Regions from separate parts of the Homo sapiens genome. Here all the other regions are linked to region 4. Evidence: promoter capture Hi-C in 16 types of primary human blood cells and fetal thymus (Javierre and others, 2016). All regions are on one chromosome and are shown on one strand. The core of a region is centred on a gene start or on the middle of the fragment in contact, and the rest is flanking DNA. Distances in the headings are between cores, read along the strand shown. Region 1 overlaps FLACC1 (flagellum associated containing coiled-coil domains 1). Region 2 overlaps CASP8 (caspase 8). Region 3 has its middle 5.1 kb from the start of CASP8. Region 4 holds the start of MPP4 (MAGUK p55 scaffold protein 4). Region 5 overlaps TRAK2 (trafficking kinesin protein 2). Region 6 overlaps TRAK2 (trafficking kinesin protein 2). Region 7 overlaps KIAA2012.

Evidence for each region. Contacts are between HindIII fragments. The CHiCAGO score rates a contact against its expected background, and 5 or more counts as called.
Region 1: a fragment that was not itself captured here is called in contact with the fragment with the promoter of MPP4 in region 4 in 1 of 17 cell types (erythroblasts); the score reaches 5.3 in erythroblasts.
Region 2: a contact is called between a fragment that was not itself captured here and the fragment with the promoter of MPP4 in region 4, in 2 of 17 cell types (erythroblasts and megakaryocytes). The highest score is 7.4, in erythroblasts.
Region 3: a contact is called between a fragment that was not itself captured here and the fragment with the promoter of MPP4 in region 4, in 1 of 17 cell types (endothelial precursors). The highest score is 5.8, in endothelial precursors.
Region 5: a contact is called between a fragment that was not itself captured here and the fragment with the promoter of MPP4 in region 4, in 1 of 17 cell types (erythroblasts). The highest score is 6.4, in erythroblasts.
Region 6: a fragment that was not itself captured here is called in contact with the fragment with the promoter of MPP4 in region 4 in 1 of 17 cell types (endothelial precursors); the score reaches 5.7 in endothelial precursors.
Region 7: a contact is called between a fragment that was not itself captured here and the fragment with the promoter of MPP4 in region 4, in 1 of 17 cell types (fetal thymus). The highest score is 5.2, in fetal thymus.

Annotation. Positions count from the first base shown.
Region 1 is chr2:201,297,932-201,301,055 of GRCh38, forward strand. FLACC1 (flagellum associated containing coiled-coil domains 1) reads right to left here. Exons shown (of 15, transcript NM_001127391.3): 12 at 1,307-1,369. Among named protein-coding and RNA genes, the nearest start is that of CASP8, 39 kb to the left of the region's middle. The HindIII fragment of the contact is 173 bases long and covers 1,300-1,472 here.
Region 2 is chr2:201,271,652-201,274,958 of GRCh38, forward strand. CASP8 (caspase 8) reads left to right here. Exons shown (of 9, transcript NM_001372051.1): 4 at 987-1,125; 5 at 1,247-1,291; 6 at 3,238-3,302. Among named protein-coding and RNA genes, the nearest start is that of CASP8, 13 kb to the left of the region's middle. The HindIII fragment of the contact is 7,281 bases long and covers 1-3,307 here.
Region 3 is chr2:201,253,915-201,256,927 of GRCh38, forward strand. It overlaps a transcript of CASP8 not described here. Among named protein-coding and RNA genes, the nearest start is that of CASP8, 5.1 kb to the right of the region's middle. The HindIII fragment of the contact is 6,710 bases long and covers 1-3,013 here.
Region 4 is chr2:201,696,860-201,699,945 of GRCh38, forward strand. It overlaps MPP4 (MAGUK p55 scaffold protein 4), which reads right to left and starts at 1,785. Exons shown (of 22, transcript NM_033066.3): 1 at 1,728-1,785. RefSeq lists enhancers at 2,415-2,916, 2,917-3,086. The HindIII fragment of the contact is 2,266 bases long and covers 1,770-3,086 here.
Region 5 is chr2:201,379,561-201,382,680 of GRCh38, forward strand. TRAK2 (trafficking kinesin protein 2) reads right to left here. Exons shown (of 16, transcript NM_015049.3): 16 at 1-1,658. The coding sequence ends at 983. Among named protein-coding and RNA genes, the nearest start is that of FLACC1, 24 kb to the left of the region's middle. The HindIII fragment of the contact is 3,042 bases long and covers 1-2,818 here.
Region 6 is chr2:201,434,406-201,437,600 of GRCh38, forward strand. The region is part of intron 1 of TRAK2 (trafficking kinesin protein 2); the gene reads right to left. Among named protein-coding and RNA genes, the nearest start is that of TRAK2, 15 kb to the right of the region's middle. The HindIII fragment of the contact is 6,958 bases long and covers 1-3,195 here.
Region 7 is chr2:202,166,244-202,169,541 of GRCh38, forward strand. The region is part of intron 15 of KIAA2012; the gene reads left to right. Among named protein-coding and RNA genes, the nearest start is that of KIAA2012-AS1, 51 kb to the left of the region's middle. The HindIII fragment of the contact is 4,560 bases long and covers 1-3,298 here.

The sequences.
Region 1 (3,124 bases), core at 136-2,635, 400 kb before region 4:
CCGGGAAAGAGCTTTTCAGGAAGAGAGAACATCAAAGACCCCCAGGTAGGAACATCCTGGCCTGTTAAGGGAACAGCAAGGAGGCAAGTGCCTCTGGGGTGGAGTGATGTAGGGAAGAAATAGAAAGAGACAAGGTTAGAGGAAGGAAACATCAGCAAGGAGCAGGTGGAACAATCCCCAGGGCCAACACAAGGCTGGGAATAGTTCATGGTCCCACCAGGCAGAGTAGAAAATCCTTCTCATACAGAGGGTGTGGTGTCAAGTACTCAGAGGGTATTACCTCAATAGTGGGGAAAATTAGTTCCACACTAAAGACTGCTTTAGTTCTGCCCAACGAAGCTTAAAAAGCAAGGCTTGAAAGGATCAAACTGTTTCCAGGCAACTTAACTGCATCCCAGGGCAAAGCTTAAGAATATCTAAAGGAATATAAAAATATTCAGCACCCAACAAGGTAAACACCAAAATGACTGACATCCAAGCCAAACTTACCAGGCATGCAAACAAGGAAATATGACCATAAATGAGGAGAAAAATCAATGAAGAGAAACAGGCCCAGACATGACACAAATGACAGAATTCGTAGACAAGCTCATGAAAATAGTTATTATAATACACTGGGTATATCTTCCTCCAAAGCCCATTTCTTGAACTTGTAGGACACCACAGTCTGTTTGCCTTTCCATAATGCTGAAGCCCTGCCTGGGCTCTAAGATAGAATTCATTTACAATGCCTTTATAATGACTAATGTTTTCTCAAACGTGTCCATTCTGGATCCAAGTCAAATTTTCAGTGATGGAAGAATCACACATCACCTTGTGGATTTGAACGGCTCCTCTTCAGTTGTCTCCCACAGACTGCCATAATTTGCCCCAGAATAGAGTCCCTGAGGAAGTTATCATGTGTGAGGTACATTCAGAGCTTAAGGAGGGGCTTGGTGACAGAGTTTCAAAGGAGACAGTTTTATACTTTTCAGAGCTCAAAGGGAAGAACTTGGTGTTTTATAACTGAAAGATCATTTGTGGTTTGAACCTTGCTAGAAATGAAAGTCATTCAACATTGAAGATCACATAGTATATTGCTGATCTATTTGTTCAAATCAGACTTTAAAAAGACCCACTGGCTTTATTTTACAGATAATTTCAAAAATTCTTTTTAACTTATTGAATCCAGTAAACTCAGCTTTAGGTCTTCCATTTCTTATTGGCTTTGGGGAAATTATCATTGATTCCATTATACTGACAGCTTGTTATTTTATTGGTGTATTTGTAATATACCAAGTCCACAGGAAAGGATGAAAAAGCTTACCTCTTTGGTTTTTCTCAGCTCTTCTAATTGCAAGGTGTCACTTTGATGTTGTTTCAAGAGCTCCTAAAAACAATTTTATTGGGAAAAGGTTAGCACTGTGGTTCTGGCACATCTTCTAGGGAGTTAAGAAAGCCAGACTAGGATTCAGGAATATAATATTCACCAAAGCTTAGACACTGCTATAATGAAGCACACATTATAAACTAGTGACATGACTTGTTGAAGTTAATGAAAATCTTAATTATGTTCAACCTTATCTCACTGACAAATATTAAAAGAAATTATATTTTCATCAAAAGCTTTTCTTAAGTCAGTGGATAGATTCAATACTCTTAAGAATTAATCTCGCCACAGATTGATCTTTATATTCAATGAAATCCCAGTCAAAATATCAGCAAACTTCCTTGATAAGCTAATTCTAAATTGACAAGCTAGTTCTAACATTTATGTAAAAATACAAAGCATGTGGAAAGGCAAAATAATCTTGAAAAACAATAGCAAAGCTAGATAACCTTTGCTACCCGATTTCAAACTTCAGTAGTCAAGACAATGTGTTGTTGACCTAAGTATGGAAAAATAGTCAAACAGAACGGAGAGTCCTAACACCCCAAATACAGCAAAGACACTATATTAGTCTGATCTCACATTTCTATGAAGAACTACCTGAGAGACTGGGTAATTTATAAAGAAAAGAGGTTTAGGGGGAGTTTCCAAGATGGCCAAATAGGAACACCTCCAGTCTATAGCTCCCAGCATGAGTGATGCAGAAGACAGGTGATTTCTGCATTTCCAACTGAGGTACCAGGTTCATCTCACTGGGGCTTGTCAGACAGTGGGTGCAGGACAGTGGGTGCAGGCCACGGACCGGGAGCCGAAACAGGGTGGGGCACCGCCTCACCTGGGAAGCGCGAGGGGTCAGATAATTCCCTTTCCTAGCCAAGGGAAGCCGTGACAGACGGCACCTGGAAAATCGGGTCACTCCCACCCTAATACTGTGCTTTTCCAACAGTCTTAGCAAATGGCACACCAGGAGATTATATCCCATGCATGGCTGGGAGGGTCCCACGCCCACGGAGCTTTGCTCACTGCTAGCACAGCAGTCTGAGATTGAATGGCAAGGCAGCAGTGAGGCTGGGGGATGGGCGCCTGCTATTGCTGAAGCTTGAGTAGGTAAACAAAGCGGCTGGAAAGCTCGAATTGGGTGGAGCCCACCACAGCTCAAGGAGGCCTGCCTGCCTCTGTAGATTCCACTTCTGGGGGCAGGGCATAGCTCAACAAAAGGCAGCAGAAACTTCTGCAGACTTAAACATCCCTGTCTGACAGCTTTGAAGAGAGTAGTGGTTCTGCCAGCATGGAGTCTGAGATCTGAGAATGGACAGACTGCCTCCTCAAGTGGGTCCCTGACCCCCGAGAAGCCTAACTGGGAGGCACCGCCCAGTAGGGGCCAACTGACAACTCATACAGCTGGGTGCCCCTCTGAGATGAAGCTTTCAGAGAAACGATCAGGCAGCAACATTTGCTGTTCTGCAGTATCTGCAGTTCTACAGCCTCTCCTGGTGATACCCAGGCAAACAGGGTCTGGAGTGGACCTCCAGCAAACTCCAACAGACCTGCAGCTGAGGGTCCTGACTGTTAGAAGGAAAACTAACAAACAGAAAGGACATCCACACCAAAACCTCATCTGTACATCACCATCATCAAACACCAAAGGTAGATAAAACCACAAAGATGGGGGGAAACCAGAGCAGAATAGCTGAAAATTTTAAAAATCAGAGCGACTCTTCTCCTCCAAAGGAATGCAGCTCCTCACCAGCAATG
Region 2 (3,307 bases), core at 692-3,191, 430 kb before region 4:
CCTGAGACTTGGTTAGCCAGGGGGCATTTCTGAGACCAAAGAGAGGGGTATTTTGGTAAAAGCAACCTGGATTCTCACTTTTTAACTAGAAGAAGAAAGTTGTCAGCACGAGTGTTACAGATGTGATTCCTTTAGACCGAAGTGCTGCTCATGTTAATTATTGGGAGCAAGGCAGAGTCAGAGGCCGGGAGAAGGAGGCTGTGCAGATGCAGCCCAGACCCGGCAGAGCTGGGAAAGACTGCGGTGGGTCTGAGATATTTCCTCCACTTCTGCAGTCCCCGAAACAACCTGGGACCTGAAACTCTGTGTGTATATTGTGTCTGTGTGTTGTGTGTGTATTTCCGTGTCTGTGTGTGCCTTTCTCTGTGTATAGTGTGTGTCTGTATTTGTGTGTGATATGTGTATCTCTGTGTGTCTCTGTATAAGTGGTGTGTGTGTCTGTGTATCTCTGTGTGTGTGTTCTCTGTGTGGTATGTGTGTCTGTGTGTTGTGTAGTGTGTATTGTATTTATGCCCCTGTGTGTGTATCACTGAGTATACTCTGTGTGTGTTGTATCTGTGTGTGTATGTGCATGTGGTGTCTGTGTGTGTGTGTCTGTGTGTCTGTATGTACTCAGGTCTGGAGAGGCAATGCTGGGGGTGAGGCTGTTCCCCAGGGTGTCACCATGATGACCGGGCTGCTGTCTCAGGTTGTTTCACAGTCCCCAAGTAATGCATTCGCAGGAGATTTGAGCACAGGGCCTGGGGACTGGGTGACATCTGACATGGCTTCTCCTTTATCCTCTCACTTCTGTCTTTCTGGGCCAGAAAACATGGAATCGCTTCCCTAGTAGCCTGCTGGCTGTGAGAGACCAGCAGAAACTGTCAGAAACTTGGGAAGCAAGGGCAGGTCCTTGGTTGGAGAAATTGGAAATTAAAAAAAAAAATCTAATCTAAAAACCAGTAGGGCTCAATCCAGATTCCCAACTTTATTTCTCCTCCTCTTAGAACCTGCTGGATATTTTCATAGAGATGGAGAAGAGGGTCATCCTGGGAGAAGGAAAGTTGGACATCCTGAAAAGAGTCTGTGCCCAAATCAACAAGAGCCTGCTGAAGATAATCAACGACTATGAAGAATTCAGCAAAGGTAGAAACAACCTGACAGCCGGGAATCGGCAAAACCTACTCTAAAATTGAAACTGACAAATCGCTCCATATCACAGTTGTTTCTAATCAAATATTGTTTGGGGTTTCCCCTTTTAATTCAGAGAGAAGCAGCAGCCTTGAAGGAAGTCCTGATGAATTTTCAAATGGTAATGCTTGGAGATACATTTTCAAGATTTAGTTAATTTACTATCTGGTACCTGCATGTGTCCTCCCCACAGCCTTCTACCACATGCACATCTTAACGTGCCTGCTCTACTTTTTCTTTTTTTTTTTTTTTTTGTGAGACAGTTTTACTTTGTTTCCCAGGCTGGAGAGCAGTGGCACCATCTCGGCTCACTGCAATCTCCGCCTCCCAGGTTCAAGCAATTCTCCTGCCTCAGCCTCCTGAGAAGCTGGGATTACAGGTGCGTGCACCACCACGCCTAGCTAATTTTGTATTTTTATTAGAGATGGGGTTTTACTATATTGGCCTGGCTAGTCTCAAACTCCTGACCTCAGGTGGTCTGCCTGCCTTGGCCTCCCAAAGTGCTGGGATTACAGGCATGAGCCACTGCGCCCGGCCGCACCTGCTCTCCTAAGACCTGTAGCCCAAGCTGGCAAGTTTGAAATAGGTGCAGAGTTAGTCAGTAGTAAGTAATTTAACATCATTTTTTCTATGTGGCTTTTTTTTTCTCCTTGACGTGCTGCTCATGTTATGCACTGAGTAGCTGGATTTAAATTATGTTTCATAATTTTCTTGGTTAAGTCACTTTCTCTTTCAACACCTTCTACACTAAGTCACTCCTTTCAACTTCCTTTCACTTTTTCTACCTGATAAGCGAGGCTGAACCAAGAGAGAGAGCTCTCAACGATCTCCTTCAAAATTTTGATTAATCAAATAGTCTTTTTTTTTTTTTGAGACAGTGTCTCACTTTGTCCCCCAGGCTAGAATGCAGTGATGCAATCTTGGCTCACAACAGCCTCGACCTCCTGGACTCAGATGATCCTCTTGCCTCAACCCCCTGAGTAGCTGGGACCACAGGCACAAGCCACCATGCCCGGCTAATTTTTGTATGTCTTGTAGAGATGGGGTTTCGCTATGTTGCCCAGGCTGATCTTGAACTCCTGAGCTCAAGCCATCCACCTACCTGGGCCTCCCAAAGTGCTGGGACTATAGGCAATTAATAAAGTATTCTTTCTGATTAGAAAAATTATATACACTAATTGAAGATTATTTTAAATTCAGAGAAATTTTTACAAGTCCAAGAACACCATCACTCCATTCATATTATGAATATTTTTATTGTATTTTTACGTTGGCTCTTTGTGGTGTGTGTGTGTAAAATACATTTTGGATCACTCAAATGTATTTTAAAGATTAATGTCTATGCAGGCTGTCCTTCCCTTTCCCCTCTGCCTGCTGAGCCTAAGGCCTTAAGAATACTTTAAGGAGTAAAGTACTAAATCATTAATTCATCCTGAGCTAGTGGCTTTATTAATGAGTATCTCACAAATACCACAAAAATTCAACCTGGCCATGTGGAGCAATATAAAATTATGGCATTTCTTGGTATGTTTTTCTCTTTGGCGAGGAGACAACTTGATCTTGTGTTTCCAGAAGCATGTTAATTGCCCTGCTTGCAGAATCTCTCTGGCTTGAAAGGAGATTATATTCATGGCAGTCTGTGAATTTTCATTTTATTTCATTTATTTATTTGAGACAGAGTCTCACTCTGTTGCCCAGGCTGGAGTGCAGTAGTGCGATCTCAGCTCACTGCAACCACTACCTCCCAAGTTCAAGTGATTCTCCTGCCTCAGCCTCCTGAGTAGCTGGGACTACAGGTGGCTACCACCACGCCCGGCTAATTTTTTTGTACTTTTAGTAGAGACAGGGTTTCACCATGTTGGCCAGGCTGGTCTTGAACTCCTGACCTCAAGTGATCTGCCCATCTTGGCCTCCCAAAGTGCTGGGATTACCGGCGTGAGCCCCTGTTCCCAGCTTGAATTTTCATCTTAAAAAAGACCTTATGTTGTCCTATGTGCTACATATTTCATTACCAGTGTACCTTTCCTGCCATGTCTCATTCTAGATGTGTCTCTTCGTTGTTTGCAGGGGAGGAGTTGTGTGGGGTAATGACAATCTCGGACTCTCCAAGAGAACAGGATAGTGAATCACAGGTAGA
Region 3 (3,013 bases), core at 107-2,606, 440 kb before region 4:
CTACTAAAAATACAAAATTAGCTGGGTGTGGTGGCACACACCTGTAATCCCAGCTACTCGGGAGGCTGAGGCAGGAGAATCGCTTGAACCCAGGAGGCGGAGGTTGCGGTGAGCCGAGATTGCACCATTGCACTCCAGCCTGGGCAACAAGAGCAAAACTCCATCTCAAAAAAAAAAAAAAAATTCTGGAAAAGCTAGGTCAGTGACATGAATATTGGAATCAGAGTCTAACAAACTCAATTTCTTCCTTTCTAAATCCGTGGTACGGATTCATGTCTGCAGTAGTTTTTCTGAGAAAGCAGAAGGGGTAGGTATTGGCAATCAACAAGCTGCAGAGTATGCAGATTGAGGTCAGTAACTGTAAATGCCCCATGACTGTCTGATCATTTTAATACCAAAAGAAAAACTTAAAATCCCAGTTGCTAAAATCTTTGTCTTAGACAACTCTTTGAGCCTCTCCCTACAAGGCCCAGAAAGGAATGAGATAGATGTGAATGGAATCTGTTTTCCCTTCCCTTGCCACGCTCTGGAGGAGGAGTCTAGGGCAGTAGCCAAGGCCAGCTGCCAGTCAAGGAAAGGGGAGCGGCCCCGTTGAATCCACAAACCACACCATCCTGGCCCATGGGTTATATACAAACTCCCACATTGGCAACAAACAAAGGGCATGCACATTCAGGGGATTTTGCTTTCACTGTGAGTGTTTATCTTTGAAGGGTGTCACATCAAGATGAATGGGAAGGGTGTGTTGCAGTTGAGCTGAGGTTTGGTCTTTCTTGGCTTTTTTAGGGACACTTACAGGTCCAAATCTGCTTTCAGCCGGCTGGTGGACATGGTAGGAGACACAGTAGTCTCAGGACCAGGCCTCCAGGTGGGAGCTGAGATTCTAGAGGGTGGAAACCACTTGGAGATTGAGTCAAAGCAGACCTGTCCTCATTCTGTGCTGGGCAGGAGCCAGCTCTCCATGTCCCTGCAGCTCCAGCAACACCTCCGGATCTTTCAGCTTCCCTGGGACTAAGGACCATGCACATTATTAATTCTGATATAAACAGTCACACAGGCACATGTCTCAAGATGAGGGTGAGAAGTTGGTTACAGCAAATGAAGTAATAATGATCTTTGTGCTTCACAATAGGAATTCAACCAACCTGAGGTTTATAATTCACTTATTAACACTTTTTATTTTTGTTGAGACGGAGTGTCCCTCTGTCACTCACGCTGGAGTGCAATGGTGTCATCTCGGCTCACTGCAACCTCCGCCTCCTGGGCTCAAGTGAGTCTCGTGCCTTGAGTGGCTGAGACTACAGGCACATGCCACCATGCCCAACTAATTTTTTTGTATTTTTAGTAGAGATGGGGTTTTGCCATGTTGGCTAGGCTGGTCTCAAACTCCTGGCTTCAAGTGATCCGCCTACCTCAATCTCTTCAAGCGCTGGGATTACAGGGGTAAGCCACTGTGCCTGGCCATAATTCATTTATCAGTCATATATATATACACACACACTGGGAGAATCTAGGGTCAGTGCCTTACAAATGGCACAAGTTGAAGCCCTGAGACTCCCACTCCTACCCTGCTCCCCCCATTCTCAGTACTGCTCCTCAGATGCCTCCAGCAGATCATCCATTTCTGCTAGGCTGGGCCTGGGTACATGCAGGGAGATGTGTACAGGGGCTAAGAGCAGAAACTTTTGAGTGAGACACTCCTGAGTTCATGCACTGGCCCTGCCATTTGTCAGCTAATTGATGTTGCATTTAATTGCATCATCTGTATGTAAGCCTAATAATTTATAGCCATCTTAGAGATGTTGTGAGCTTAAATAACATAGTAGTGAATATTTATTTATTTGTTTATTTATTTATTTAGACAGGGCCTCGCTCTGTCACCTAGGCTGGAGTGCAGTGGTGTGATCATAGCTCACTGCAGCCTTGACCTCCCACACTCCAGTTATCCTCTCACCTCAGCCTCCTGAGTAGCTTGAGACAACAGATGCATGCCACCATAACTGACTAATTTTTTAAAATTTTCTGCAGAGACAGTGTCTCCCTATGTTGCCCAGGCTGGCCTCGATCTCTTGGGCTCAAGCGATCATCCTGCCTTGGTCTTCCAAAGTGCTGGGATTACTGGTGTGAGCCACTGCACCCACAGCCTATTTATTGAGAAATGTGGAAGGCCCAGGCACTATTCTAAGTGCTCCAGCTGTTTTATCTCCCACAGTTTTGCTCAGATAGGAGTTCCAAAGCTGGAGCTGGAAGACTCATATTTTTAGAAATGTTACAGTTAATTCTGAGGTGGGTCAGATTGAGATTCATGGCTATGCATTAATGTTTAGGTGGTGACTAACCACTCAGGGTTTTAGAGACAAACAGACCTTATTCTGTCACTCACTGACTGAGCGTGGCCAAGTCTTTCAGCCTCTCTAAGCCTCAGTGTCCTCATCCATAAAATGGGACCAATCGTAGCATCCACTTCTGAGAACTGTTCAGAAGTGGAAATGAGCTAGTTTAGGTGGCTGTGTCTGGCATACGCCAATGGTTTGATAAGTATTAGCTTGTGCCTTTATTAGGCCAACTCCTTTTTGTTAGGTGACTGAGAAACCAAGGACCTTCTGCCCTTTATGCACCAGTCACTATTAGTTTAAATTTGTTGCTCTTCCATCCACATGATTCATTCCAAATTTGAAGTGTTGGAGAAAGGGAGTTAGTATGTCATAGAAAAATCTCTGTTTTTGGCTCAGCAGGACTGAGTTTGACTCCATGTAACTGTCTGAGTCTTAGTTTCCTCATCCATAACATGGGAGAACAATACCCTGAATTAGAGAATTCTGCTGCCAGAATTAGAGATAGTTCATGTCAAGGTGCAACATATAGGTAATGTGTTATTGCTGGTGTTCTGGTTATAAAATGTACAAGATGTGAAAGCAAAAGGGCAGAAAACCCTTTTTAAAAATTCATGGCTGGGCGCGCTGCCTCATGCCTGTAATCCCAGCACTCTGCCAGGCCGAGGCGGGTGGATCAC
Region 4 (3,086 bases), core at 535-3,034:
ATCTACAACTTATGCAAATTCTAAAAACTGTGCTTGGCTCCTCATCTTCAGGTTCCTATGACAAATTTATGGTGGACTGAATGTTGTGTCCCCACCCCCAATTCAGATGTTGAAGCCCTAATCCCCATTGTTGATGGCATTTGAAGATGGGGCCTTTGGGAGGTAACTGGGTTAAGGTCATGAGGTAGAGGCCTCAAGATGTCATTAGCGTCTGGGTAAGAGCCATCAGAGTTCATGTGTTCTCTCTCTCCCTGCCAGATGATGGCACAGTGAAAACGCGGCCATCTGAAAGCCAGGAAGAGAACCCTCGCAAGAACCCAACCATGCTGGCATCCCAATCTTCAACTTCCAGCCTCCAGAACTGTATGAGAAAATACATTTCTGTTGTTTAAGCCACTGTCTATGGTACTTTGTTATGACAGCCAAAGCTAAGACAAAACTCATAGAAAAAAACTTCCAGAAAATGATTTTCCCTCCCTCCAGGTAGCTAAGAAAACAGTTGCAACTTCTTGCCCTCATAGCACTTCTCATTTTCCCAGTTCTTGTATCCACTGGCTTGCTCAGTGTCTGTCTCCCGCAGGTGTCATGTCTGCAGAGGGCCTGGGGAGCAGAGATGTTGCTTATCTTGTTCATGCTGCAGCTTCACCTGCAACAGTGCTTGGGCCATAGCAAGCACTTGGTATGTTCAGTTGTTGTTGGGAAGGGGTAGAACAAGGAGAGGCCAAGATCCAGAAGTAAAAGGCTGATACCTCCCTCAAGGCAGTAGCCAGCAGCTGGGACTTCAATCCTAATGGGGGAGGCAGCTGAACTCCAGAGGCCTGTGCCCTCCCTTCCTTTCCTCCCTGGCCTGGTATCCTGACTTAAACCTCTTTCCCTATCAAACTTTAAAACTGGGGGCAGAAGCGGATCTTAGAGATAATCAAATGCAAAACCTTTGTTTTACAGATAAGGAATCTGACATTCAAGGAGGTATTCAGTAGAGTTAACATGTAGTAAAATCGAGTTTTCCTCTTTTGTTTCCTTAGTCCTGAAAGATGCTGATGCCTGGCATGATGCCTGGCAAAAGACTTACCTTCCTTTCCATGACTTCTGTACCAAATTTGTCAGTTGAAGCTTATCTATTTCTGCTATCTTGAGAGTGAGAATTCTTGATTGAGACTGCAAATAAGTAAGCACCCACCACATGCAATTCCGGACTGAGTACACAGAAAGGATAGCCAGTTCTTGACTCAGAAGATGCATTAGTGTGACTGATGCCTAAGGAATTTGTCCTAAATCTTGTTTTAAAAGTATTTCCATTAGCTTTTTAAAACGTACTATTAAATGCCACAACCCCCTACCCTTACTATGCTTGTTTTTCAAAATAGTGCTTTTTACTAGACAAACCCTAAAAAAGCACTTGGAAACTTAATGATGAGAAATGGCCCTTACAAAAATAGCTGGCTTCCTCTGGGTCCAAATGCTGTTGATTAGGACCAGGGCAAATGCCCATTGTACTCAATCTTCCTGACAACTCATTATTCCATACTGAAGAAATGGCTTCTCGAAGCAAAACCTGCTCTTTCAAGATCATAAAATTCCCCATATCATTTGAGTTAAAATGAAACTAAGCCATTTGAGTTAGATTACCCAGATTTATATCTTTAGCTATTAAAAACTGACAGGCAAGCTAGGCAGTTATGGATACATCTTCTGGTAACTGAGGATTATTTGCCAAGGTCTCTTACCTGCAAGACTGTAAACATGCATGTTGCTCCTATCCAGACAAAAGCTTTAGTAGGATACTAGTGGCCTGTTAGCTGCCAAAGTCACCTCACTGCTCCCGATAAAATCTCTGCACATCCTCTTTGATGTAATCCACAGATGCCTAACCCAGCCTAACAACTAAATTACTCACAAGCCTTTCCTGCCACAAATCTTCTTAAGTATTCCTTGAAGTCTAATTTGTATCATTTTCAAACCTACATTCTAGTATTTTCTCTCAAATTGCCAACACATAGTTAACGGCAGAAAAACATAGTATTTTTGTTGATTAGTTCAAGATGACAGACATTCCACAACAGAAGATAGCATTTTTAATGAAAGAAAAAAATGTGGCAGGACCGGAAATAAGCCAATAACCTACTAACCTTATTAAATCTCTCATGTTATGGTGAGAAAACAACTGAAGACTGTTCAGCTAATAATAGAAACCCATCAAAAACAGTACCTTCTGGTCAATCCCCTCCCAAGCCACTGTTCTGAACCTAACAAATAGTGCTTTCTGTCTCAGATAGGAGCTACTTCTTTATCTGAAAACTTAATACTGCAGGGAGTGCTCAGTGGGGAGAGCATTTGGAAGGGGATATTGCAGAAAGGAGAGGAAGGTATTGCTGACAGCAAGGCAAAAGGTAGAGACCAAATGGCAATTATCAGAGGGTCCTCAGCCCTTCTACCCATATTAATCACATGGCTTTCCTTATCTCTCCATCATAGATGAAAACACAAGTTGGGAATGTGATACATTTGTGTTTTGAGTACAGCATATTTTGTGAAAAGCACTTGATTTCAATAAGATTTTCATTTTTAACTCACTTTTAAGAACTTTCAATACATAACCAGCTATGAAATGACATCTCTGGCAGCTGTAGTAGCAAAAAGCACTGGACTTCTAGGGAAGTAGGGAGTAGGGAAGTTCTAGGCTGGAGTCCCAGCTCTGGCAGTGAGCAAATCTTGGTCACTGCTTGTCTGAAAAATGGGGGGAAATGGGGATAACACCTGCATCCTTGGGCTGCTGTAAGCATTCATTACGCATGTGAATGACCATTGTAAACTGCTGCAGGAGTGCCAAGGACTTCTATTTACAAACATTGGCCTGGAGATTTAGGGTTTTTCTTCCAATACACTTCAAAATTTATAACTTTAATATGCTATCTGAAAAGCATATAGTAGGAAGAATCCAAAGTAACTGAACAGTTTCATTCAAGACTCCAGTAAAAGGACGAATTGTAACATGGCTTTTCTTAGAACAGAGACAGCCTATCATCATTGGAAATCTTCTCAATGGGTCAATTTGTCTCAAAGTTTTTGTTTGTCCATTTCCACAT
Region 5 (3,120 bases), core at 48-2,547, 320 kb before region 4:
TTAGTTGTCACCAACTTTTCTTACAAAAAAAGTTTACATATATAAATATACAACATTCCCTAATTCCTATTGATTGCACTTCTGGCTTAACCCCTTCCAGCCTCCAAGGAATTTTTAAAAACATGCAATTATGTTTGTATTCCTTGGCTACTGTACTTATTCAGACGAAATATTCTAAAAACAAGTTTTCTTGGTTTCAATTTACTCACATTTTGCCTCTTAAAAGTAAATCCCTCCCACCCTCTACCCAGTTGTTTTTTTTTTTGGAGGTTGTATAAAAATACAAATTTAAAAAATGAACTTTTATTAATCATAAATACAAAATAATTGAGTGGTATTTGGGCTCCCAGGGGCTCAAAGGCCTGAAAACAGAAAGGAAAATAGGAGTCTCCACCTGTGATTCAATGAAAAAGATGAAACTCCTAATTTTGCTAATGCTGCGAGCATACCATTTGATGGATACATAATTTAACCAGATATTAACAGGGGAAACATATAAGCCATCTCACTATTGTCTCAGTAATAGACTGAGCTTACCCCACCAACCCCTCAGAACGGCTTTCTATAAGCAATAAAACTGCTCCTTTTCTCTTCCCATCCTTCTAACCTGGGTTCTCTCTGCTTTATGCTTACCAGAAGTAAATGTGCCAGCAAGTTCAGTATCTCTGTATGTTTTAGTATTACTGAATTTATTTGTATTCACTTTTTATGTTCAAGACAAGAAAACTCAACTGAAGGAGTATATTAAACCTTTCTTTTCTCCCTCTGAACACTCATGGCCCATTCATTTATACTTTCAATTTGCCCGACTTCCTCCATTAGGGCTCATCCCAATTTTATTTCCATTCCTCCATTCCCCCTTTCACATTCACAACCCTTGTGCAACATTCCTTTTCTCTCAAGTCAGACCAGACCACATGTTTCAGTGCATATCTATCCTTCATGTGCTAACTTGTATAAAAGGTCAGTTAACTGCTGAACCTCAGTCCTCCTTCAGGACACCCATTTTGGGTGAGGATGTGCAAACTGGGGCAGCAAAGCTACCCATTATGACTGGAAGACTCTGATTCCTCCTTAGTCCACCTAATAAACTGCTACCTGAATTTAAATAAACAGCAGAATCTGGTTTTTGAGGACCAATTTCTGCCTCCTGGCATCTTCCATTCTCTTGGGCACCAGGGTTCTTGACCACTCTGGCTATCCCCAGTCTCTTCAGCCTGTCCACTAAGTTCATCTTCAACTGGCCAACATCAGGAGGGTTCCGGGAGGGTCTCAAGCCATACATCTCCTGGAGGAATGTCTCAGCTGGTCGAGAGGCCAAAAAATTTTCAGAGAGATGCACTCGAGGCTCAAAGGGTAAAGGAGAAGGGCAAGGTGAGTGAGATGGTGAATTTGGTGGTGTGGAAGGGATAGCCAGGGATTTAGGGAGAGGCTGGAGGGGGTTCTCTGAAATTGGGCTGTGGTACACTTTGGCAGAGATGCCTCGCTCTTGTAGAAGTTTGGCCAAGCTCATGGTGCTACTGAAGGTTGTAGTGGAATCTCGTCGGTTGGTGATGGACTCACCAATGCTGAGTCTATAGGACAAGGCAGGAGAATTCACAGCCGTGTTGGATGAACTGCTACCGCTACTTCCACAGGATAATGAAGGGAACCCAGAGCTTAAAAAAAAAAAAAAAAAGTGGGAGACAGTGTTTAAGAATAAAAAGCAAGCTCCAAGCTGGCATTTAAAGAAATTATAGTAGTTATCCTTGGTAAATATAAAGTAACAGGCAACAAACACATCCGTAACTGTATGCTGTGGAACAGATCTGGGGAATGAAAATTTTGACATGATACTTCAATGATTAATTATTTGTAATTCATAACTTAGTAATTAACTTATTAAAAGATATTTCTTTTCAGTGGGATATGAAAGGTATTGCTGTACTCTTAGATAACTTTACTCTTAAATTTTAACTCTAAAATGTACATCTGTAGAAATACAGTTAAATTTTATGATAGAAGGCAAAGAAATTTGAAGATTAAGGAAAGTAATTTAGAATGTTTATTCATATATCCATTCCATAAAGTGAGATACATTGAGACAATAATCCATGGGTAAACAGTTTACCAACTTTTAAAAAAATACAATCTTTCACAATTAAACATGAAAACTCTTCTGGGAGAAGTTTCTTTCTTTTTAATCTTTTAATTTTATTTCATTGAGAAATAAAAACTTCTAATTGTTAAATTTCATTTTCTCAAGAAATGTTAATTTCAAACAATAATGGTATAAAAATATCCATAGGATGAATTTTTTCTCAACCTTGACCTGAAACATGTGTTTTTAGGAAATTAAAAATAACTAATAGCTTCGACAACTATTCAGTAATACTTCTTCAGTATTACTTCAGTATTCAGTAATACTACTGAATATACAGAAGTGAAGGTGAGCTTGTGCAGAGGACTGGCCCTGTAAATCTTGCAGTTTGGCTAACTCCGGGTATATAGCCCCAGCTGGGTTATTAGTTGTCTGCCCTAGGACCAGTCACCTCAACCTTCCATGCCTCGGTTTACTTTACACAATACATACTTGCCTTGCCTACTTTTATAATAATCAAATGAGAAAATTCTTATTCTATGCTTAGTCGAAAAGAAAAACTAACGAATCATGTACTTGAGGAAACAGTGATGAAATAGAGATGGTACTTCTTTAGCCAATTTCCCTGCAAAACAAATGTTACCAGTATTTAATAGATCAACTTTCACTTCAACATAAAATACTCAATATATTAAATATCAAGATATCAAAAATTTTAAAGATTATGAACAAAATGTAAGCTTAAAATTAACAAACTTTCTAAAGCACCAACTTGTATAGGAACAGCAAAATTCAAATGAGTTTGACTCCCTGGTCAAACCAGTCCAACTAAAAGCCTCTGATATGGAACAGTCTATATATTGTATTCCCAGTCTCTAAATCTCCCTATTTCTACTAGACTCTAGAACTGCCTGTCCTTACCCAAACTGTACACTTCATATAATGGCATCAACCTGTATTAAGAGTCTCCTCAAGAACCAATTTTGTAAAACTTGTTATCTTGATGACTATAAGAACAATGTAGAAAAAAATGCAGATTT
Region 6 (3,195 bases), core at 81-2,580, 260 kb before region 4:
ACTATGCACATATAAAACAAACATGCTATAAATAATAATAATGGCCGAGTTAAAATATTCATCTGTTGATGATCAGCACAGCTAAATCCCTTGCTCTGGAGTATACTTTGTCCCTATCCATAAAGTTCATAAGTTTCAAGTTTCAAGCAGAAGAGTTTCAAAGGATTTATAAGACCATATAAAGACTTTCTGTCCTATAGATTTATACCCTAAAATCATGATATTTTTGGATTATAGAATAAAAGAACACCAAACTCTTAAAGAAATTGCATAAGCAACTGAATAAGCAATATCAACATGTTTTCAAACTATACTTCTGGACAGGATTTCTATCTTTTGCTTGATGTCCCAGAGTGACAGTATCAAAGGAGATACATAAAAATGCTTAATACAGCATTAGCTAATATTTATACATCCCTAGTTTTATGCTTTGTCCCATCATCCATTTGTTTTCAAATTCACTGTTTCTATAAAAGGTCATGATTGGCTTAGAAATCTGAATAACAAAGCAAATTATTATTTGCCAGTCAAAAATAATTTAGTGACGGTCATATGTAGTTTAGTCAAAGGAAATAAGATAGCTCAAAAATACTAAAAGTAAAACTCAAACAGGTAGACTTCAGTCTCACATTCATAAGGCATTCTTGATTTCTTTCTTTTTTTTAATTTGAGACAGGGTCTTACTCTGTTGCCCAGGTTGGAGTGCAGTGGCATGATCTCCACTCACTGCAACCTTCGCCTCCTGGGCTCAAGCGATCCTCCCACCTCAGCCTCCCAAGTAGCCTGGACTACAGGCACCTGCCACCATGCCCAGCTAATTTTTGTATGTCTTTGTAGAGATGGGGTTATACCATGTTGTCCAGGCTGATCTTGAACTCCTGAACTCAAGTGATCTGCCTGCCTTGGCCTCCCAAAGTGCTGGGTTTACAGGCAAGAGCTACCATGCCTGGCCTTGATTTATTTCTTTAAAAGAAAGAGCAACTTGACATAAACTCTACCTGAAATTCTGTAGTCTCTTAAGTGAGCAATATCTTCTCTCTGCCATTTGGCATAAAAGCTACCCAAGGCTATATAATAATATTCACATCTAACACTGCAAAAGCCTTTTCAAGATAGGCTTTCTTATAACTTTTCAAGAATGGAGACTGAGTTTAGTATGCATTATTTAAATATTTGAAAGTTAGATTAATGGAGAAATTAAGTGTTAATAAAAGGGTTATTATTACCAAATCATACCTAACAAAGTACACATTTTATTATCTTAACAGCTGACAACAGTGCTTCTTTTAGGAAAGAAATACTTTTTGTTTGGGAAAAGACTTGGAAAAGTCTCTTAAGGTAGAAGGTAAGGCCTCATAGCATCAAAAAGAAGGCTAAACTGCTCTGCAAGAGACAGGGAAATAACTGTTTTTTCTTTCTCCTAAAAGGGAGAGGGAAGAGAGAGAGGTCTCATGGTGATGGCAGGAGCTCAGAGAGAACACCAGAAATCTGCAAAAATCATAAGGAGGGTTTTGGCTTCCCCATATGAAACCTTCACATGCAACTGAAGGTTTACAGCAACTATTTCACTCTTGAAGGGTCTGGACACTCAGCTGACACTTGGGTTAGACATATTAAAATATTACTTCACAAGGGCAGTTGCTGTCAATAATTTATATTCCAGGATATTAATAAAATATAGTTACCATATTTTTTATTTTTCAACAGAAAATTATGTCCTTTTGACTAAAGTAACGATTAAAAAAGGAAAAAAAACAAGTATAGGTCTTCAAAAATGAGGAATGCAGAGTAAATGGCATCATAGAATTCATGGATTTCCTGTTCTCTTAACCAAAAATGGGGGAATACATCTCAAGCAGAGGCATTTTATACAATAGAATCTGTGGGTACTAAAATATGTACTGTACTTCTAGAAACAAATAAATCCTTCCTGAACAAGTCAGAAAGAATTTTCTTTCAATGATGACTGGCAAAATTTAGGCGCTAGTTTCAATAAAAAGACACCATTGGCCGAAAACCTGGAAATACTTCACAGAAGATTAGAAACAGACTGAATAGATGACAATTGTGCTAACAGATTTAAGAATATTTCTGTATAATCTGCTCTTCAGAATTTATCCTCAAATCAAATAGCTAGGAAGACCCCTTGAAATGGCACTTTCACATAGCAGTAAGGAAAATACAAATTTTAAAAACAGCAACAAGTCAAGAAGAGGTAGAAAATCTATGTCCTCATTTCTCTTTGTCCTCTCTAACAATAAAACACAAATTTGCTTTTGGTGGCTTAAGATGACTCTAAATCCTTCAGTTATTTAAAAATTATAGTCCTTAAGGCCTTCAGAAGCAGAAGTCCCCATATGATCAGTGTCAAAAGAAAAACTATAGGCAATATAGCTCTTCAAGTCAACGAAGTAATCAGTGGCACCAGGACGTGCAATCTTATATGACCAGAACAGAGGGTAACTTAAAATGGCGGTGAGTGATGGTCAGGATGGAGTATTATAAACACATATAATTCTAGATTTATTCTAGAATTATCTGCATATTAAAGACATACCTATTTTAGTAATGTAATTCTACTAGGCGAGAGACTTTCTAATTACAGTATGTTTAGACATAAGACTCATTGTTTTTCAAAACCAGTTGTCACAGACAACTCAAGGGCTTTGAAGATAAGGTTACTTTTTGAGGGAGAATTAACATGCAATAGACGCCTTTGGTTTGCCCATGAACTTCAGGGCAAATAAGAACAGGTAAATTTTTTGAGATATGGCTACTGGCTATCTGCAATCCAGGAGGTTATTAGATTCAGAGCTTGAAGGCTATAATAAATAGGAGGCTGTGGAAATTTGAGAACTCTCTTCCTCTACCTGCGTTTAATGGCTATTCTCCCCAGTTCTTCAGGATTCTCTCATGGGCCCTCTCTCTCTCCTTCTCTCCTCTGGAATCTCATCTACTTCAAAGGCCTCAATTTCCAACTACACTATAGTTACTCTCCAAGTCTCTATCTTCAACCCAAATTGGCATTTTGTGATTTTATACTGGAAATCTCAGTATCAATTTATAATCATTACCATAAATCCACCACATTCTAAACTGAACTCATTTTTCCTTCTCCCATTAAATATTTTTCTTTTTCTGCTTCACTAACTAGTTGATATCACCAATTCACCTGATCAGCAGAGCCAAAAATCT
Region 7 (3,298 bases), core at 710-3,209, 470 kb after region 4:
AATTAAAGAAGGCATTTTCCTGTCCTGAATGATAAACACTAATGTTCAGAAAGGATTTCAAGTATTTGAAGAAAAAAGAAGAGGGAGTGCCAAGGAATTTTTTTTAACTATTTAAGGATCAATTTTCAGCCAGACACAGTGGCTCACGCCTGTAATCCCAACATTTTGGGAGGCCACAGCAGGAGGATCACTTGAGGTCAGGAGTCTGATACCAGACTAGGCAACACAACAAGATCCTGTCTCTACAAAAAATTTTAAAAATTGCTGGGCATGGTAGCACATGCCTGTAGTCCCATCACTCCAGAGGCTGAGGCAGGAGGATCATTGGAGCCCAGGAGTTTGAGGCTGCTGTGAGCTGTGCTATGATCATGCCACTGCACTCCAGCCTGGGCAACAGAACCAGACCCTGTCTCCAAAAAAAAACAAAAACAAAAAAAAAAAGGATCAATTTTCTCCCCATAGGTCTTAAGGCTAATTACCAGGATTTTTTTCCTACTCTAAATTAAGTTGTGATCTTCATGGTTAATTATAAGCAGTGAACCAGTTGCCACCTGCAGTGAGAATATCATGAGTCTTAGACTTGGTGAGAACACTTCAAGTTTCCACAAGACAGGTCAAATCAGCAACCTCCAAATCAAAGTGGCTTTGAAAAATTGCTCTGGCTTTAAATACAAAACTTTCCACTTTCAGAGGCTGAGGCGGGCAGATCACAAGGTCAGGAGATCGAGACCATCCTGGCTAACACGGTGAAACCCTGTCTCTACTAAAAAATACAAAAAATTAGCCAGGTGCGGTGGCGGGTGCCTGTTAGTCCCAGCTACTCAGGAGGCTGAGGCAGGAGAATGGCATGAACCCAGCAGGCGGAGCTTGCAGTGAGCCAAGATCGCACCACTGCACTCTAGCCTGGGCAACAGAGTGAGACTCCGTCTCAAAAAAAAAAAAAACTTTCCACTCCTCTACCCCTGTCCAAAGTCCAGGGAAAGAATAAAATTTCAATTCTTATTTCAATTCTTGTTTATTTCCTAGGCCAATGGTTCTCAAACTTCAATGTGCATCAGAATCACCTGTAAGGCTTATTAAACTAAAGATTTCTAGGCCCCGCCCTCAGAGTTTCTGATTCATTAGATCTGGGCTGAGGCCTGACGATTTGCATTTTTAGTAAGTTCTCAGGTGATTCTGATGCTGGTGGACCAGCAACCACAGTTTTGAATCGCTGCCCTGGGCCTTGTTTCCAGTATGTATTTCCCTGAATTTGGCAGCAACTCAATTTAACCTGTTCTTTTAAAAACAGTAGGAAGGAATACTGGACACAGTCACTCATGGTTCCAACCCCAGCACTTTGGGAGGCAGGAGGATCACTTCAGACCAGAAGTTGTTGGAGACCAACCTGGGCAATATAGCAAGACCCCTCCCCATGCCCTGCATCTCGGCCTCTAAAAATTTTTTTTTAATTAGCCAGGCATGGTAGTGAGGACCTGCAGCCCTAGCTACTCAGGAGGCTGAGGCAGGAGGATCCCTAGAGCCCAGGAGTTCAAGGCTGCAGTGAGTTGAGACTGCACCACTGCACTCCAGCCTGGATGACAGAGCAAGACCCTGTCTCTAAGAAAATAAAATAATAATAATAATAATAGGTAGTGGGGAAGGAATTGGTTGGCAGGCACTGTTTAGGCAGCATCATTGTGATCAAGAGTACTGATTATGTAGTCTGATTCCCAGGGTTCAAGTTCTAGCACCACCACTTACTAGCTGTGTGACCTTGAGTAAGTTACTAAACTTCTCTGGGCATCTTTTTTCTTCCTCTGTAAAATGGGGATACTAACAGTACTTATCTCATGGGGTGGTTGTGACAAAGAAGAGTTAACTATGTAATGTGCTTAGAAAAGTACCCGTCATAGGGCCAGGCATGGTGGCTTACACCTGTAATCCCAGCACTTTGGGAGGCTGAGGCGGGTGGATCACAAGGTCAAGAGATCGAGACCGTCCTGGCCATCATGGTGAAACCCCATCTCTACTAAAAATACAAAAATTAGCCAGGTGTGGTGGCACGTGCCTGTAGTCCCAGCTACTCGGGAGGCTGAGGCAGGAGAATCACTTGAACCCGGGAGGCGGAGGTTGCAGTGAGCCGAGATTGTGCCACTGCATTCCAGCCTGACGACAGAGCAAGACTCTGTCTCAAAAAAAAAAAAAAAAAGAAAGAAAAAAAAAGAAAAGTACCCATCACAAAGTGCTCAAAAAGGGATATTCATCTACTCTTTAAAAATCTTTAATAGGAGCCACAATTTGCTCCTTGTCAGGAGAGCCTTATTCTAAGGTAATAACATAATGATTTCTTTACTTTCCCAGTCTGGGTGGCATAAGGGGTATTGGGGGTGCTTTTGGGGGATGCATGTAGTCCTCTGCTTAAGTCCAGGTATGGGCAGCAGACCCAAAATGAATGAAGCAGCCTTCCAGCCTCTGCATTCAGTGAAGTTACTGTGACATAACTCCTTGGGACATGACAGAACTGCTTTAAGAGTCTTAGGAGGAGTGAGAGATTTGGGGAACCCTGCATGAGGTGCAGGGGGTCCTTAAGGAGCAGCCTGGAACAATGTGGGGGTGGGGACGAAAGGCAGGTATTGTGGAAATTCTCAGAAACAAATAAGCCATTTCCATCATTTCTGTTCTGTCAAAAAAAGGAGGCCCAGAGCCCTATTGCCTTATTCAAGAGACAGATGTGTAGTAGATAGGATGTTGGTACAACTGTTCTAACAAAGGCCAAAGTAAAGTGACTTCAAACGAGATGGAAGGGTTATTCCTCTCTGATGGAAAAGTCTGAGCTGGCAGGCAGGGGGTCCCTGGGATCCATGAAGTCTAATTCAATTGCACAAATGCTTAATTGGGTGGCTACTAAGTACCACCTATAGCCCCATGTGTTATGTGAGCTGCTTGAAGGCAAGGATCATGCCTTATTCAGGCCTGGTAAATGTTTCCTAAATGAATGAATGAGTCAAATGTATGAATGAATGAATATGCTAAGTATTCAAAGGATTCAAAGATGACAAAACCAAGTTTCCTACCCTCAAGGCCTCACAGTGAAGACTTCAACTGCAGGCATGATGTTCACTGTGAGGAAACAGTGCCTCCCAGGGTTACTAAGGTCACAGCCCTCTAACTAGGGTGCAGTCAAGGAACCTACAGCCACCAGCCAGAACCTGCACCTTCACCATAGACCCAGAAGCAGCCAACAGGCAACAGGTAACTAATGCTGATGGGGAAGGAGGACACTGGCTCTGTCAGCTTCTCAGTGAGTGTCCCAGCA